Linked DNA regions of Homo sapiens: region 1 is linked to region 2. Evidence: promoter capture Hi-C in 16 types of primary human blood cells and fetal thymus (Javierre and others, 2016). All regions are on one chromosome and are shown on one strand. The core of a region is centred on a gene start or on the middle of the fragment in contact, and the rest is flanking DNA. Distances in the headings are between cores, read along the strand shown.

The links. Contacts are between HindIII fragments. The CHiCAGO score rates a contact against its expected background, and 5 or more counts as called.
Region 1: a fragment that was not itself captured here is called in contact with the fragment with the promoter of RFX3 in region 2 in 2 of 17 cell types (neutrophils and M1 macrophages); the score reaches 7.9 in neutrophils.

The regions. Positions count from the first base shown.
Region 1 is chr9:3,242,273-3,247,810 of GRCh38, forward strand. All of the region lies in intron 15 of RFX3 (regulatory factor X3), which reads right to left. Among named protein-coding and RNA genes, the nearest start is that of LINC01231, 63 kb to the left of the region's middle. The HindIII fragment of the contact is 2,079 bases long and covers 2,468-4,546 here.
Region 2 is chr9:3,521,699-3,527,829 of GRCh38, forward strand. It overlaps RFX3 (regulatory factor X3), which reads right to left and starts at 4,303. Exons shown (of 17, transcript NM_001282116.2): 1 at 4,049-4,303. It overlaps LOC124902110 (a long non-coding RNA gene), which reads left to right and starts at 4,787. Exons shown (of 8, transcript XR_007061398.1): 1 at 4,787-5,079. RefSeq lists enhancers at 3,444-4,060, 4,638-4,687, 4,948-5,247 and silencers at 3,748-3,837, 4,268-4,457. The HindIII fragment of the contact is 14,491 bases long and covers 2,925-6,131 here.

The DNA.
Region 1 (5,538 bases), core at 2,257-4,756, 280 kb before region 2:
TGGCACAAGGCCTGCCCTCAATTGGAAAAATACTAATATAGTAAATAATAAGCTTCACTCTAAATAACAATCAACAGTATAATTTTTGACAAGTATTCCTTACATTTTCTAAGCCACTACTCTTCCATGATTGTTTTTTTTTTTCCTGCAAACTATCTCGACTTGTGATAATATTCTTTGCTTTTAAAATACTGTTGTAACAAGTCTATTGTTCAACAGGCACATTTAAAGTGTATTCCCTAGTCACACTAGCACAATGCTTGCTAAAATTTGTTTTTCTTTGGTTTGATTTTACTTTAAGCACCAATATTTGTTTACTATGAATGTAATTCTACTTCCACCAAATGGAATTCTTTCACTGAGCTTTTATCCCAAAAGCTTACATGTTCAATTATTATTGCTCTTCTTCAGTTTCTAGGTTTTGAAGATTTTTTTCCTTCCAAAAAAATTAACTGAGTATATCAATTTTGATGAATCCAAGACATTTTTCTTTTGATGTTAAATTGTTACAGGTTAAATTTTTCTCTATTACTGAAATATTATCTTTTCTATATTGATATTCGCAATTGAACACTTAAAGACTCTACTGGTTTCTCTTTATTTGAAAATGGCTAAAGAGGTGGCTTAGACATAATATTAAGTATAATTAAATTATGATTAAAAGAATTGATATATTTAATAGATTATTAAAAGGTTTGTAACAAAATCATTTTATGAAGCAATCAAAATTTCAAAGATTCAGTGAATATATTAATGGACTATGTATGTTTTAAAGAGATAAAGCAGAAAGATTCTAAACAGCCATAACATTTGAATAAAAGGACATTTTTCTGCTCAATTTGTCTGGTCAGAGTTGTATGGAAAGCTTTATGATTTTTAAAATTGTTTATTTAACAGGTATGTAAACAGATGCAACTCATTTATTTTATTTTATTCTTACTCTTAAAATTTCACCACTGCCAGAAAGCTTGTGGACAAATTTATAATATTTAAATGAAAATTTAAAAATTATATAAATTTTAGCAATAAATAAATTGTTTCCTTTTTATCATTTAGGCAAAAAAAAAAAACTCTAGAATTGCATATGCTTTAAATAATTTACTAGGCAGTATTAATGTAGTAGCATACTGACATTTACAGGAAAACTTCTTGGGACTGTGAAGCTGTTTCCAGCTTAGGGGAGTCCATTGTATAGCAGTCTTTATTTCAAAACACCAACAACATTTATAACATTGAAATGACAGCATTAAAGTCAATTTAAAAGTAATAGTTTGTATGCTTGTATATATCTTGTTTATATGTAAAACGGGTTGTTCTTTCCTGCCTGCCTGCTCAAATAATGTAAGTAATGTTAATTTTAAAACTCAGTAAAACTGAGTTCACATTATTGAAAAGATACATTCATTGTTCTTAAGTCACCTTAAAAGGAAAGTCTTTTTGCTTGCTTATGAAACTATTTAACTGACACCTTTTCCAAAGCAAGCACCTGTAAAGGCAAAACAAATACCCAGCAAAGTTTGTGACTATTTTGCAGGTTTGCCCTTGAAATTGTTCCTACTCCAATCCTACTCCAATCTGTAGCAGGTCATAAGCATGGCAGATTAACAGCAAGGACTTTGGTGCCAGACTGCGTGGTTTCAGAACCTGATTTCACAATTTAGTGGTTGTGTGACCTTGGGCAAGTTACTTTTTGGTTCTGTGTCTCATTTCTTCTTCTTTTTTTCTATTTTTATTATTTTTTTTTTTTGAGATGGAGTCCCGCTTTGTCGCCCAGGCTGGAGTGCAGTGGCGTGACCTTGTCTCACTGCAACCTCCACCTCCTGGGTTCAAGCAATTCTCCTGGTCTCAGCCTCCCGAGTAGCTGGGACTACAGGCACATGCCACCACGCCCGCCTAATTTTTTTTGTATTTTTAGTAGAGACAGGGTTTCACCATATTGGTTAGGCTGGTCTCAAACTCCTGACCTCAGGTGATCCACCCGCCTTGTCCTCCCAAAGTGCTGGGATTACAGGTGTGAGCCACCAAGCCCGGCCTCTTATTTCATCATTTGTAACACAGGTGTAATAATAGTATCCACTTATAGATCTGTGGTGAGTTATTAACATATATATATGGCACTTCGAACTGTACCTGGCACACAACTGCTATGTAGGTGTTAGCTTCACTTGAAATTTTGACTTTTTATCCTAATTCAATTTTTCCTCTTGTCTGTTGCATTTGACAGTGTTTATTTGGTCTCCCTGGTGCTTGAACGTTAGGTTTCTCAGGAAAACTTCCCCTTGGCTGTGCTCTCACCCACCTCTGTCAGGGCCTGTGCACATTCCCCTGTGCCTGGGGTGTTTTTCACCCCTTACCTTCAGATTCTCTCTTCACAGAGTTAACATCTTTTGTCCTTTAGTTCTTACCTCAAACATCACTTCCTTGGGAAAGACTTCCCTGGTCCTCCCAGGCTAGATTTAGGGCCTCAAGCTTTAAGCATTCTTATATCCCTTTAATTTTCCTTCAAAGCACTTAACAAAGTTTGTAGCTATAGTTATGTGACTATGTAAATATGTATCCCCCACTTGAAATCTAAGCTCCTCGAAGGCTGGGTAAAAATCCATTTTTTTCATCATTATATTCCAATCATGATAGCTTTGGCATAGAGTATCTGCACAATAAAAACTTGTTAATAAATGATAAATCAGTTTCGGAGATCAGAAGTCTAGAGTTCAACACAAGTCAACATGATTTGCCCAAGATTATACTAATAGCCATGACAGAGCTAGAAGTAGAATTCACTTCTGACTCAAAGTCCTTTATTGTTTCCAGGTATTACATCTTTGACTATACAAATCAAACAGAGAACTGTGCAATTAGTATTGTGGAGCTTCTAGAATGACAAGTAAAAGTACATATCAGAAAGACTTGAACTGTTTAAGGTATTCTGGAGTAACTGAGTCTCCCTGAGAAACTGATTTTTACAACATGAAGTAGGAGTTAGAATGGGCATGGGGAGATGGGCAGAGGCTTCCAGGTAGAAAGAACCATTTATGCAGTAGTCCAAGGATGAGAAAACCTTAGTGAATGAGAACAGAGAAAAGGCCACTGTGATTGCAACAGAAAGAGTAGGAAGTGGGAGGCTGATGTTGATCAGAGGGGCAGGGCCAGATCATGCAAGAGCTCATGTTAGTAACACAAGGGAAAGTCACTGAAGGGTTTCAAGTGGGGGATGACACAGTCAGCTTTGCATTTTCACAAGACGATACTGACTGCACTCTGAGGGATTTGAGAAACAGAACTTGGTAATTGGTTGTAGATGGGAGTCAAGATAGAAGGACATAAAAAAAGAATGCTCACGTGTCTGGTATAATCAACTGGGAGGATCGTGGCGCCATTTACTGAGAAAGAGCCATTAGTTGATACAGCAAGACTATTATCTTCATTAAGTATATAATATGCTCTCAGTAAATAGTGACAATTGTTATTGTCTTTGTGGTTGCTATTATTACTCATTATTCCAAACCATTTGCTGTGACTGGGAGTTATGGTGATTTGTATGGATTTCAATGGATTTTGGCCTGATGTGTTACTCCCACTATGTACACAGGCACGTCTGGATTTGGTGATTGGAAAAGGAAGTCACCCAAGGGACCAAGAGAAGGTAGGCTTAGGATAATGTGAGGAGAACATGAGAAAACAAACTTTTTATTTTTTGAATTTCCTTCTCCTTTTCCCCAAATCAAGAAATTTTAGATATGATAGTATGACCATGGCCAATAGATCTATGAGAGCAAACAGGTGTATGAGGCATCAGTGTTGTATGAGGAGATCAAACCTATAAAATTAGTCTGAATTTGCCTTTTGGGGTAAATAATGGATGAGCATAGGCAGGTCAAAGGGCTTTCCTATAAACTGAGTAAGCAAAGAAATCAAGAAGTATGATTAGATCTTTGACCATTTTTTAAATTTAGATTTTACGTATATATCTTTGCCTCATGTAAAATCTGTCATATTCATTTAGATCGTTTACATGTAGTAAAAAAAAAAAGAATAACTATTAGAATGGAGTTGGCACTATAGATTATGTAGCCCATTTTAATTCTGGTGCCGCCTGTGCAAGCATACCAGGAGGTTGCTAAGCCTTCACACTGTGTGACTGGCTCACATCCACTGCCTTTGTTCCCTAGAGATGCAAGGAAAGCAAAGGCCATGCATCAAGATTAGCCACATGGTGTTAATGAGAATCCCCGCCATCATTATCCTATTTATCTTGTTAAAGAAGTCCTTGAGCATATGAGGTAGTGGCAAATGTGTTAAGTATACTAAAAGGCAAGGTCCATTTCTGAAGTCTTGAACCCTGAGTTAAGAAATTTTAGAGTACTGAGTCCACGTGCTACCTGGGCATTTTCCAACAAGGCATCTATAAAACAAGTAAAGAAAGAGGCAATGAGGGGAAGTCAAATATAAGAAAAGTCCAGATTGTTTTGGTCACATGAGGTCCTGCTTACAATGAAAAGCCACAGTGATTCCTGCTTAATCTCACACATATATTTGGCATCATTTAAGCTTTATCATCAACAGGGAACATCATACAAAGACATTTAGATGGATATACAGCAAGGGGTTTTAAAGAAGTGGAAAAGATGAATATTTCAACTGACCTTCTAGGCAAGTTTGACATGCATTTTATTTATACTAGAATATTAGGGAGGTCCTTGAAGTATTTTAATGTATTTTTATTTATACCTTATTATATTAAACTAGGAAAAGCATTGAATAATATCTGTTTTCACTCTTTTTTATTTATATAAGCACATACACATAGCTTAAAAGTGAACATGTCTTTTTTACCGCCTTGGGTAATTTGTCACATTTAATAATCTGGTATGATTCGACAAGGTATAAACTACCCCCGCCTCCTGCATTCAATATAACAAAATAAGCCAGTGCTGAACCATCTGAGCATTTGCATCTATTCCTCATTATATTAACCAGCCCTTGTTATATTCAGAGTTTAAGCTTTTTGATAAGCCATTTTGATGACTATTCAGAAATTCTGAAGAAGAGAATTTTCCCCCTTACATCATTAGTGGTTAGAAGCATATGGGTTTGAAAATCAGACTGTGTTTGAAAAAAAAATCTCTACCATTTTTTAGCTGAGTAATCATTTAACCTTTCTGTGCCTTAGCTTTCTGCATAAACCTCGGATGCTTATTGTAAAACAGAATAAAGTAGAACGTATCTCAAAGACTTGCATTAAGTGCTTTATTACATGTAAAAAACATAGAACTGTGCCTCGCACATAGTAAGTGTCCAAAAAATGTTAGTTATCATCATTACCATTTTTATCCTTCTAAAATAGAATCATTTACTTTGTTCTTGGAGACCGGGAAAGAGTCTACAAAATACATATTTAATCCTTTCCATTGTATTCCCAGCCCTTTGCTTTATCAGGAGCACCAATCTTTTTCCCACTTAAAATATTTTTCATATTCCAGTGGTTCTCAAGTTTTTCTTTTACATAGGTACCTGTATAATATAGAGACACATTCCATG
Region 2 (6,131 bases), core at 3,053-5,552:
AAGTCAGGAAATGTCTTAGTTTGAAAATACTTAACCAACAAAAACAACACCTATTTCCAACATATAAAAAATGCTGTCAAAAAATTATTTCAGTAAAGGATGACAAAAGTTAACTTGTCATGTTAACCAAATTTCACTTTATTCAAATTGGCCTTGGGGTTTGACTTGGGTGTGTAAAATGTTCCTGTGTACTTTTTCTGGATTCAAAGGGAATTTACCATTATTTATAAGAATTGATAAGTGTTTTGTGAAAGAATCTGCAGGTTCTACCACTTAAAAATAGAATATTCAGAAATAAAAGTTATGTTAAATTACGAATCTTGAGTAGTTCAAAACTTTTACTTTAAAAAAAAAAAACTTTTCCTAGAAAACTCTAAAAGTAGATTTTACTAACAACAAAAGCAAAGGATGCCACCTGCTTTAGACAGCCCTTTTGTCAACCACTGGAAGTCCCAACACAATGCAGTAAAAAATGAAAGTGACACCTGTTTAAAGCAGCCATCTGTCCCTAACAAGCCAGATTTAGTCAAATCCACTTAATCTTGGATTTCCAAAATATGGGAACACTATGTATCTGTGAATAGAGAGGAATTTAAAACATACTTTGTCATGGCCACTGGGAATATATACCAAAGAGTTAAAGGCAAATTACTCAGTTATGAAAACTGTTTTTAAGGTAACTGAGCTCAAATAGAGGATTTTTAGCCAAAGGTTCAGCATTAAAACAAAATAACCAGGAGCCTCTCAAAAATGTTAAAGTTTACTTCTTCCCTATTCTCATTTCTTGTAACACATTCTCACTATGGATACTAAGAACAAAGTAATATTCCTATTACTGTTCTGGAAAAGTGTGTGTGCGTGTGTGTGTGTGTGTGTGTGTGTGTGTGTGTAACTTTTGCCACACATCTGCTGCTATGCCCACCCATTTAAACACAAACACACACACACACACAGACTTTAAAATCTGAAAACCAAAAATCATTATATTCTGCCTGCTAATTTCTTCAGCTGGAGAATACCAACACAATATCAACTTTCTCAAGAAATGAAAAATGTTACCAAAAAGTAACATACATTATCATTTAAACGACGCATAAAATCCAACTTGCCTTTAAGATTCATTCATTTTTTAATTGCTATTGTTAATGGTAAAAAAATTAACCATAATAAATTGTTTAGGGTAAAATAAACTGTTCCAGGTTAAAGCACAGTAAGCTTATAAACTATAACCTTTTATTTGAGTACCAAAGCAGAGTACAAGACTATTTGAGTACTGGAGGAATAATACAAAAAAAACTAACCATCACTACAACCTTTAATGAAAACATTGTGAAACGATGCAAAACTTCTAGAAATTCATTAGTTTGCCATATATGTGTATATGTATGATGCCTACACCATTTAATACAATTCATAGGCAAAACACACCAAAACGACTGAGTTAGGCATTATGACATACATTGAATCACAGACATTTGACTATTCAAAACAAGTTACAAGTGACTTCTATTTAATAGTTTTAGTTTCAAAGCATGATCACTTTTACAAATTTCTATTAGTATAAAAACTGAAAACACAAGAGAGTATCAATACATAACATAGTCCCTTCTAGGAAAAATATTAAGAAAGAATAAAGTAAATGCTAAGTATCTATCCTTGTGTTTAATTTTTAAATTTACCATTTCTCAGTGTTTCTGATTATTTAATCAATTCCACAGCAGCTCTAATAGCAATTTTATCCCACATATATGCTTCAAAAAATGGAAAAGTAATGAAATTCAATTTAAGTTCTGCTCTCAAATCAACTTGTGAATGAAAATCTAAATCACAGAAAACCTGAGCTATACATGAGTGAAATGCCTCAAAAAAAGTTCTCAGACACTGTAAATAAAATATTAAACCATAACATTATAGTATATAATTTACTTAACTGAAAACCTATTATGTAAATGGCATAAGGTCTGAAACTGTCCCAAGACAGCAAAACTCCTATTAACTTCAGAGAGAGTTTATAGGACCCAGGAGCTTCACCATCCAAAAGTGTTCAGGCATTTGACACTCATCTGAACAGAAAAAAAAATACAAGTTAGTATTAGAGATTTGCATGGAACCCAGTTTGGGGAGAGGAGGAATAATTATAAACAAATCTGAGTGCTCTGAGAAAGACTTCTTTCAGAACAAAATATCGTCTTCATTTAAAATAGCAATCACAAGGAAATGAATTGAAAAAGTTTTTTTAAAATCCCAACTCTTATTTTACAAAATATTAGCCTTAATAGCATTATAATTACCCACCCTGCTCGTTGACAATCTCAAGAATAATTAGTACTGTCACATTATTCACAAGCTGCTGTGTCAGTTAAATCAATATATGTTTGCTGTTAGAAAGAAGACTATTTGAATAAGCATTTTAAAACTGTAAATTTAAAACTTCAATATGTGCAACTACAATAGTACATTATATTTGTTTTAGCACACATTCATTATCAAAACTCTACTGATAAATCTATTAACTAAAAGTTAAGCTGAAAAAAATGAACAAATTTAGGGGATCTGTAAAACTGGGTTAACGTTAACCAAGAACCTACTATATAAGGACTAATAAGTATTCAAATCTACAGAGAAAAATAATTTTTAAAAGAAATACTTAAAAAGGAAAAAGTTCTCTCTCCTGAGCAGGTTCAAGTCACTGTCCAAAGAAAATCAAAAAGTAAATAAAAAGAATATGTTAAGTACACACATGCCTAGATCTTAACCAGAAAGAAAGTGAAATATACACACGTTTCAAGTTGAGAACCTTCATACATTCTTTATGAACTTGACTTGAATTTCAACTCTCAAAGGAAAATGAGGAGATTAAAAAAAAAAAAACTCTTAAAGTACCATAACTGTCACAAATAACACTGTGAACTGAGTTCTCACAAAGCTTCCTTGTGTCCCTTCCCTGTTCATCACAAAGTCTCATAATCACAATGAAAATTGTTAACACTCTACTGCGGGGAAGGAGGATCATCAAAGTGAAACGGAACCTCACTACTCCCCCTCCCACCTCCACATGAAGGATAAAGCACTGTCAATAACTACTAACCCAAGTATCACAGATGCCCTGCATCCGGTTTAAATCACAAGCACACACACACACACACACACACACACACACACACACACACACACACACACCAAAGAAGAGAGAGGAGACAGACTTTAAAAAAGAAAAACATCTTTCCCAGTACAGCAAAGAGGGCCCAACGAACAGGCCCCAGGTTTCAATATGTGTGCAAGGGGTGTGTGGGGGGGGGGAGAAAGAGGGGGAGGGAAGAGTGCTGAATGGATGTTAAGACTGTTTGCCGCACAAAGAAAATACAGTTTTAAAAAGAAAAAAGAAAACCATGAAGCTGATGATGGTGAAAGAAGAGCAGCCCATTCAGCACCAGGCAAAGAGGGGCAAAAATGAAGGGAATGGGCGGTGGGAAAAGTTCACCAACGTATGAGGATTAAAAATAACAAAACCCATAACAAGGCCCCACAAGTGAACAACAACAACAACAAAACACCACCTCTTGGGTCCCCCCCTTGCACACTGTTGTCTATTTCGGCTTTGAAAGAAGCAGGAAACAGCAGCGTTGGAAAAGAAGAAAATTAAAGAAAGAACAAATTCTTATCTCTTCACCTGACCCTCCTCCTCAGACCAGACCTAAGGGAAAGATCCAGCATCCGCATCGGAAAACTGTGGCTCCCTCTCCCGCTCGGCTCGCAGCCCCCCAAGCTCCCGCTCCATCCCTGAAGTGCGGCCGGCGCAGGGCCGGGGCCGGCGGGCGGCGCGGCGCCCACACCCCCGACCCAGCCGCGGCGCGCAGGGTCCATTGTAAACAAGCCCGGGGAACAGAGCCCCTCGGCGGCGGCGCCGCAGCGGCAGCCCCCGTGTCAGGAGTGAGACCCCAGCACAGCCACACTCGGCTCGCACACACGAACACACACACGCACGGACACACGCGTTCACACGCAGCCACACGCTCCCACACACATGTAGAGACCGAAGAATATTCACCTTGGCTGTGGATTATTGTGGTGTTGTTGGTGGGTGATGGAGATGGTGGTGGTGGGGAGGAGGAGGAGGAAGAGGAGGAGGAGGAGGAGAGGAGTAGTTGTTGTTGATGGGTAACAGTCGCCAGGACTACGGTGACTATGGCGCTTGATTCACAAGGCAACGGTTGCTATAACTCACAAAAGAGAGAGAGAGAGGGAGAGAGAGAGAGAGCGAGAGGGAGAGGGAGACACTCGCACGGGGAGGGGTGGGGGAGGGAAGAGGGGAGGAGGCGGGCCCGGCCAAGCCGCCGGAAGGGGAGGGCGCAGCGCTGTGACTGACGGCCCCCAAACCCGGGTGGGGTGGCGGGGCGGCGGGGTGACGGGGCACGAGGCCGGGATTCCACCGCAGGACTCCGAAGAGGTGCGCCTATGCTTGGCTGGGGCTGAGGTCACCAAGAGTCCTCTCGGAGGGACGTTACTACACGCGCTGGCGAGGCCCAGGAGTCGTGGTGCGAGGGGTACTATCTGTGAAACGAGGGCTGCCTGTCCCAGCAGCCAGCTTTGTACAGAGACGTCCCGGAGCCACGAGAGAGTAACGGCTAACCCGGGGGAGGGGGTGGCGAGGGTGATTCCAGGCACTTTGTGAAGAAACGAGCTATGGCGAGGGAAGAATCCACTTTGAAGAGCGGCCCCCGCCCTGCCCGATACGTTACTTCCGGGGCGGGGCGGGCAGAGGGGCCCGGATGTGCCGCCGCTTTTTAGTTTCTGAGGCGCCGGCGGTGTTCCTGGTAGCGTCAGCCTCCTGGCTTTTCCTTTTCCTGGACGCTTCAGGGCTCCGCGGCCTGCGCTAGACTGGAGGGTCCGCGTCACTCTCGCCCTCCTGCTTTCCGCGCTCTCACCCGCTCCCGCCTCCTGAGGGCACGACTTGTGGAGGAGCGCGGGCGGCGGGGCGTGAGCGAGCTGCCTCTGCCGCCATCTTAGAGAAGGCGAGCGTGGGGTGTGCGTGGGCGCGAGTCGGCCTCCCGCGGTGCCGCCGCAGCGTGGCGCGGAGAGGTGAGGTCCAAGCGTGTCCGGCCCTCACTCCATAACGAAAAAGCGAGGTCATCACTCCCTATCTACAAGGGATGGGAGTAAGTGCCTGTAGAGAGCAAGAAATTGCCCTGCCCGGAGGCTGAGAAAGCGCATTTGGCGGTTCCCCTCGACGGAAGGCGTAGAGGGGCGGGGTAGCTTACACCTGCCTGCGATACCATCCTGTTAGTTTCTAGTTCTGTTAGTTTCAGCCCTTAAGTGCTCACCCCTCTTTAAAGACCGAACTGGGAGTTGAGCTCAAGCCCGGATCCTGTTACCTGCCGTGCTCTCATCCCCCGTTACTCAGCCTACTGTAGCTGAGGGTCTTGCTGTTTGTGGCTGTATTGAGATAGACGAATGGCTTCCGTCTGTGTTGAATGTTGTTAACACAACCTGCCATCTCAAACACCCGTTGATAAGGCACAGCCTGTAATGCCTCATGGTTCAAACAGACTCCTCCAATTCTCTGCAGACTCGAGTCCAGCAGGCACATGCCCCCAGGCCCTGCCAATACCCAAAATCTCCCAACATTTGCCGCTAAGCTGCTTAACCAGGACAATGACATAGTAGAAGTAGAGCCTTAGGAAGTCAGTTCTCCTCTTGAGGCTTAATTTTTGCACCTGCAAGTAAGGGATTTGGGCCGGCATGCGTTCACCAGCGCTAAAATAATACTGAGCTCATTCTGTGTCCCAGAACTGGTGCTAAGTGTTTTACATACATTATCTCATGTAATCCCAACAACACCAGTGTTAGGTAATATTCGCATTTGAGGAAAAACAGGCCGAGAGTCCTAAAAGTCGGTGGTTTTAGTTTATGGCTGCGTGCCATAGAATACAAGGTTACCTTGTTTTAGGAACCAGCTACTTTGGGTACGTTTTTAAAAGTAATATTGTTGCCTTTGATAATCTCATGAGTTAGAGATGTTCTTACAATAATAATGTGTTGCAGTAGTGAACAGTGGTGAGCCTAGTGCTAAAGCTAAAAGGTTTCCTGACCCACTGTGGTAGTAAGGGCTTCTAGTCAGACAAATGATTGTG